Linked DNA regions of Homo sapiens: region 2 is linked to region 1. Evidence: promoter capture Hi-C in 16 types of primary human blood cells and fetal thymus (Javierre and others, 2016). All regions are on one chromosome and are shown on one strand. Each heading gives the region's core, a stretch centred on a gene start or on the middle of the fragment in contact. The rest is flanking DNA. Distances are from core to core; before and after follow the strand shown. Region 1 holds the start of MEI1 (meiotic double-stranded break formation protein 1). Region 2 overlaps NDUFA6-DT (NDUFA6 divergent transcript).

Region 1 (3,423 bases), core at 648-3,147:
ATCTACAGGGTGCAGAGGGGCTGGGCAGCAGCCTTCCTGCCATTCTGCAGAACCTGTCAGCTTCAAAGGGAGGCTCCACTCTGCGGTGGCAAAGCTGGGCCTGACCCTTCTGGCCAAGATGTCCTGGTCCCCACAGCTCGCCAAGCGCAAGCACTTGGCCCCTAACCTGAGCCTGAGGGAACCTGATTCTACTCTGCCTCCCAAAGTGGGTGATCCTCGTGCAGGGGAGGACAGCATCGGAGATCACACTGCTTCACAGAGGGATCTTCAGCTGCAAGGTCACTGCTGTACTGGGGCCACCCTTCCTAAGACAGAGAGTCCCCAGGGCCAGGAGGCACCTGGGAACCCAAATGGGGCTCCACAGAATACACGAGCCTCCAAAAAGTTTAGTATTATGAAGCATCTGAATTTTTTTCTCTTCCAGAATGGCTTTAAAAAGTAGACTCAGGCCCAGAGTCCTCAGGACATATCAGAAAAGCTTTGAGAGTGTCCTGATCCCTGCAAAGCCTCTAATAAATTGGTCATTTGGGCCCTGTGGTGTTCTGATTTCTCTGGCACATTTTCCAAGTGCCCCCTTTCGGGGTTTGGGATACTTTGTGGGTGGGGTAGAAGCCCCTTCCACTCTGTGGTTGTGGTTTAGGGAATGTGGGTCAACCCAGTGTCCTCTCCGAAACACCTGCCCCCCAGCTCCTCACAGTGGAGTCCACTGAGGTTCTATCCTGCTCTGTCTCCAAGCTAATCCTGATTGAGGCAGGACACTCCAAAAGCCTCAGCTGCTTATGGGGAGGGGTGGTCCTCTGCATGGGACGCTTTTTTTTTTTTTTTTGAGATGGAGTGTAGGTCTGTGGCCCAAGCTGGAGTTCAGTGGCTTGATCTCCGCTCACTGTAACCTCCGCCTCCTGGGTTCAAGCGATTCTGCTGCCTCAGCCTCCCGAGTAGCTGGGATTACAGTCATGAGCCACCACACCCAGCTAATTTTTGTATTTTTAGTAGAGGAGGGGTTTCGCCCTGTTGCTCAGGCTGGTCTTGAACTTCTTTCTCTCTGTCTTTGGTGTTTTGTTTTGTTTTTTTACTTTTATTTTTTGGTCTTAAGCTTCTGATTTATTTATTTATTTTTAAGATGGAGTCTTCCTCTGTCACCCAGGCTGGAGTGCAGTGGTGCGATCTTGGCTCACTGCAACCTCCACCTCCCAGGTTCAAGTGATTCTCCTGCCTCAGCCTCCCTCCCAAAGTGCTGTGATTACAGGCATGAGCCAACTCACCCAGCCTCTAATTGCTTTTAGATGCGAATCCTTGGGATCGCTTATTTTCCTTTTTTTTTTTTTTTTTGAGATAGAGTCTTGCTCTGTCGCCAGGCTGGAGTGCAGTGGCACAATCTCAGCTCACTGCAACCTCCGCCTCCCAGGTTCAAGTGATTCCCCTGCCTCAAGCCTCCCAAGTAGCTGGGATTACAGGCACTTGCCACCACACCCAGCTAATTTTTTGTATTTTAGTAGAGACGGGGTTTCACCATGTTGGGTAAGATGGTCTTGATCTCCAGATCTCGTGATCCGCCCACCTCGGCTTCCCAAAGTGCTGGGATTACAGGCGTGAGCCACCATGCCCGGCCTTCATTTTTAAAAAACAGTAGAAATAGCTTCCTTTCCTTCCTTTTTCAAGGCAAATGCCCCCTACTTTATAATTGCTTTTCAACTTTGGATGTGGTAAAGACATTCCTGCAGGGTTCTAAGCACAAACCGCTTTTGGCTTAGCTAGACACGATCCAGAGCACTTGCGTCCACCACTTGCCCTCAGTGGCTGCTGCTCGTCTGAGACTGCAGCGCCCTGGGTCCGCGCAGGCGCATTCCACACCGACGCAGGTCCGTCCTCCAAGTGCGCATGCGTGCAGTCTGCGCGGGAAAGAGTGCCGCCTCAGCTGAGGGCAAGCGAGGAGATGGCTGTGAGGCAGGCGGCGACGGCGGGCACTCCCGGGCCCAGGAGAGAGGAAGAGGCGGCGCTTCTATTCGAGAGGGCCCATTACCGGCACGACCCGCGCTGGCTGCTGCCCGTGACCCCCCGCCTGTGCCTGGCCTGCGCGCTGGAGCTGCTGCCGGACCCCGGCGTGTCGGTGCGGGCGGAACCTTTTCTTCAGAAGACCTGGGTTTGGCCATTTCCCTCAGCAAACGCGGCCAGGCCCTTGCCAGACCCGCTCCGGTGAACCCGACGCGAAACCGGGCCCCCGCGCTGTGTTCACTCTCCTCCCTGTCAGCCCGTCCCGGACCCGGCCGCAGCGGCCTCTCGGGCCCCTCAGCCCCAGGCCGGCCTGCGGGCCTCCGTGGAGCCCGGTCCACTGGCTCTGCGCCTGAAAGGACGGAAATCCGGATCCCCCGGGACCTCACCCAGTCTCAGGGACACACCTTCCCGCCTTCCGCCTTCTGGCTCCTTCCCTTTGCTGCCCCTGCCTCCATTTCCCGGGGATTCGGCCTTAGCTCAGGCTCCCGCCATTTCAGCCTCCCGCCATTTCAGCCTCCACTCACCTGCGGGCCAGGGGCGCATGCGGCGGCCGCTCCTCATTCCCTTCAGCTGTCGGGGTGTGAATCGGAGGAGGGGCAGTCTGGGCTCCGAGGGGACAGGAGTGACAGGTTACAGCCGGGCAGAAGTGGGGGTGAACGGGAAGACTGTTCCTTGGGCAGAGCTGGCCAAAGCGGGCTGCCTGGGTCCTCATTGCCTACCGCGTTTGCAATGAAGTGGTTTTGTTTGTTTCGAGACGGAGTCTCGCTCTGACACCCAGGCCGGAGTGCAATGGCGCCATCTCCGCTCACTGCAACCTCTGTTTCCTGGGTTCAAGCGATTCTCCTGCCTCAACCTACCCAGTAGCTGGGATTACAGGCTCCCGCCACCACGCTCGGCTAATTTCTCTATTTTTAGTAGAGACGGAGTTTCATCATGTTGGCCAGGCTGGTCTCGAACTCTTGACCTCAGGTGATCCACCCGCCTCGGCTTCCCATAGTGCTGGGATTATAGGCGTGAGCCACGGTGCCCGACCTGCAGTGAGTTTTCTTGTCCATGGAGGCATCCAAGAAGACTTTGGGAGGTCAAGTTTCTCTCCAATTCATGGGAGGGGAATTCGTGAGTGGGTGGATTGGCTAGATCAGCAGTTCTCAATTTTTTTTTTTTTTTTTTTTTTTTTTGTAGAAACGGTCCCGGGGGTCTCCCTGTGTTGCCCAGGCTGGTCTTGAACTCCTAGTCTCAAGCAATTCTCCTGCCTTGACCTCCCAAAGTCCAAAGTGTTGGGATTGCATCTGTGAGCCACCGTGCCTGGCTGCGTTCTCAAATATTTTGATTTCTTTCTTTCTTTTTTTTTTTTTTTTTGAGATGGAGTTTCACTCTTGTTGCCCAGGCTGGAGTGCAATGGCGCAATCTCAGCTCACCGCAACCTCCGCC
Region 2 (3,227 bases), core at 603-3,102, 420 kb after region 1:
TTTCTTTCCTTTTTGAGACTCTGAGCACTCTGTTGCTCACAGTGCAGTGGTGCAATCTCAGCTCACTGCAACCTCTGGCTCCTGGGTTCACGCAATCCCCCTGCCTCAGTCTCCCAAATAGCTGGTATTACAGGCACGCACCACCATGCCTGGCTGATTTTTGTATTTTTAGTAGAGATGGGGTTTCACTGTGTTGGCCAGGCTGGTCTGAAACTCCTGACCTCAAGTGATCAGCCCGCCTCAGCCTTCCAAAGTGCTGGGTTTACAGGTGTGAGCCACTGCGCCTGGCCAATCCATAGCCTGTATTGTTTTTTACATTTCTTTGTTTTCACTTTTCTCTGGTCTCTCCTTGAGTAGTTTAATAATCAACCATCTGAATTGTTTATCTGGCAATTCAGAGATTTCTTCTTGATTTGCATTCATTGCTGGGGAGCCAGTATGGTCTTTTGGAGGTGTTATAGAACCTTGTTTTGTCATATTACAATTTTTCTGATTTCTTCTCACTTGGGTAGACTATTTCAGGGGAAAAATCTGGAACTCAGGGGCTACTGTTCAGATTCTTTTGTCCCACAAAGTGACCCCTTGATGTGATGCATTCTCACTTCCCCTAGGGATGGAGCTTCGTGAGAGCCAGACTGTAGTGATTGCTATTGCTCTTCTGGGTCCAGCCACCCAGTGGGGCTACCAGGTTCCAGGCTGGTGCTGAGGAATGTCTGCAAAGAGTCCTGTGATGTGATCCGTCTTTAGCTCTCCTGGCCATGGACACCAGCACCTGCCCTGGTGGAGGTGGGAGGGGAGTAAAGTAGACTGTGAGTGTGAGAGTCCTTGCTTGTAGTTTTGTTTACTGTGCTGGCTTTCTCAAATGCTGGTTATGCTAGCAGTGAAGTTGTCACGTGGACAGACTCAGGAGCTCTGGTTAGCCAGGATGTTGAAAGCAGTGGAATTAGCTGTTTCTCATTTCTTGGAGCAGGGTTATTCTGTTGTGAGTTGCTGTAATGTCCTGACTTGGTTGGCCTCCAGCCAGGAGGTGGCGCTTTCAAGAGAACACCAGCTGCAATACTGGAAGGGGGATATAAGCTTGCCCTAAGTTGGCCAGGATAAGTATTAGGATTTCTCAGGTGATGGACAGGGCCATAAAGCTCCCAAGAGTTTATGGCTTTTGTGATCAGCTACCAGGGCGGGTAGAGAAATACTGTCAGGTTGGGGCAGGGTTAGGTGAGTCTGAGCTCAGACTCTTTCTGGGAATCTGTTACTGATTTGTAATTTTTAATTCCACAGTGTTTGAAGGACATACTTGAAATAAATTTAAAATCCATTGAGATTTGTTTCGTGGTCCAGAATATGGCCTATCTTGGTGAATGTTTCATGTGTATGTGAAACTGAGGCATCCATCCCTCAGTTTCAACCACCCATAGATTTGTAATTATTGTTACATTTACAGAAATTTGCAGGAAGGTAGAAGTTATTGTCTTGAACCATAAAATGTCTGTTTGAAGTCTTTGAGCTCCTCAAGGGTAGGCTGTATGTCCTGTTTACCTTTGATCCTCTCAGCATAATGCTTGGACCAAAATGGAAGCTCAGCAGACACTGGTTGAATGAATGAATAGATGACATTCAATTGTTAGGCTGTGTTCTTGTTTTGGATTTAGAAAATATGCTTATTGTGTTATGCAGTAAGACTGAGTCTTGGCTGGGTGCAGTGGCTTACGCCTGTAATCTCAATACTTTGGGAGGCCGAGGCGGGTGGATCACTTGACGCCAGGAGTTTGAGACCAGCCTGGCCAACATGACAAGACCCTGTCTTTACTAAAAATACAAAAAAATTAGCTGGGCATGGTGATGCACACCTGTAATCCCAGCCACTCGGTAGCCTGAGGCATGAGAATCTCTTGAACCTGAGAGGTGGAGGTTGCAGTGAGCCATGATCATGCCACTGCACTCCAGCCTGGGCAACAGATCAAGACTCAGTCTTAAAGACAAAAAAAAAATACTGAGTCTTACACACTTTTGCATCTTTGTGTCTCTATGGGTCTTCACACAGAGCTTGGCACATTGTAGCTGCTCAGTCAGCACTGTTTGTGCTGAATTGAAACAATGAGATATGTACAAAGGGGCTGTCTCTCACTACTGGGGATTTAAAGCCACCCCGAGGCATTTGACAAGCTGTTCTGGCCAAGGTTGAAGAGGTTGTCCTGTCATAAAGCCCCCCTAAGACACGATGTCACACATAGACACCACTCTCTGTGCGAAAGGGGGGGCCTGTGCACTGAACTCCCAGACTTAGCTGGGCCTCAGTGCTCTTCTTGGGTTTGGTCATAGAGCCCAAGAGGAGGTGGATAAGCTGCCTGACACTGATATGGTAAAAGGATTATCTGCAAATTTCTAGCGTCATCAAGACTGGCCTCTTTGGTAAGCAGGCCTAAAAGGCTGCCCTCAATAAACCACCCAAGCAGGTGAAAATTATCTTTTTACCCCAAGCCTACCTTTTCTACATCCTTTTCTACTTGACATGCCCCTTCTACTCCTCTTCTCTCCTTTAGGACTCATTCTCTCTCCTTTCCTCCTCTAAACCTCCTCCCAGAAAAAGACCTGATAACTTCACTTACACCGGGTTATAGATGACTAACAAAGCTTACTATTGAATATGTTGCTAGTAGAAATCTGAATAAGATACAGCAACTTTTCAACTCTGATCATGGCTTTAAGCACTAGGATGAACCACAGCCATGTAATCATTCATTTGGTTACTTAGCTCTTGCTGTGTCCCACGCATAGGGGCAGCTACTGGGGGTTTGACAGTGGACGGACCTAAAGTGGTCCCTCAGTCAGGGGACAGTACAGTACCCTAAGAGCACTGAGGAGGGCCACCCCACGTGAACTCAGGTAGTCAGGGGAGCCCTCCTGAAAGCCATGGAGAAACACATTCTAGGTAGATAACAGCACATGCAAAGGCCTAGAAGTGAGTGTCTGAGGTGGAAGTTCAGAGTCTTTGTCGTCAGCAGGACATGGAGCAACACTTGACACTGAGATTTAGGCAGAGAGAGACAGAGAGACAAAGAGAGATAGAGAGACAGAAACAGATACAGAGACAGAGTTAGAGATACAGAGAGATAGACAGAGACAGAGACAGAGATAGAGACAGAGCTAGAGATACAGAGAGAGACAGAGATACAGAGAGAGAGACAGATAGAGATACACAGAGAGAGGCAGAGACAGAAATAGAGACT

The links. Contacts are between HindIII fragments. The CHiCAGO score rates a contact against its expected background, and 5 or more counts as called.
Region 2: a fragment that was not itself captured here is called in contact with the fragment with the promoter of MEI1 in region 1 in 2 of 17 cell types (erythroblasts and endothelial precursors); the score reaches 5.6 in erythroblasts.

Annotation. Positions count from the first base shown.
Region 1 is chr22:41,697,606-41,701,028 of GRCh38, forward strand. MEI1 (meiotic double-stranded break formation protein 1) reads left to right here and starts at 1,898. Exons shown (of 31, transcript NM_152513.4): 1 at 1,898-2,107. The coding sequence starts at 1,934. It also overlaps the pseudogene C22orf46P. RefSeq lists a silencer at 1,871-1,970. The HindIII fragment of the contact is 5,602 bases long and covers 1,092-3,423 here.
Region 2 is chr22:42,116,084-42,119,310 of GRCh38, forward strand. The region is part of intron 3 of NDUFA6-DT (NDUFA6 divergent transcript); the gene reads left to right. Among named protein-coding and RNA genes, the nearest start is that of CYP2D6, 13 kb to the right of the region's middle. The HindIII fragment of the contact is 1,554 bases long and covers 1,076-2,629 here.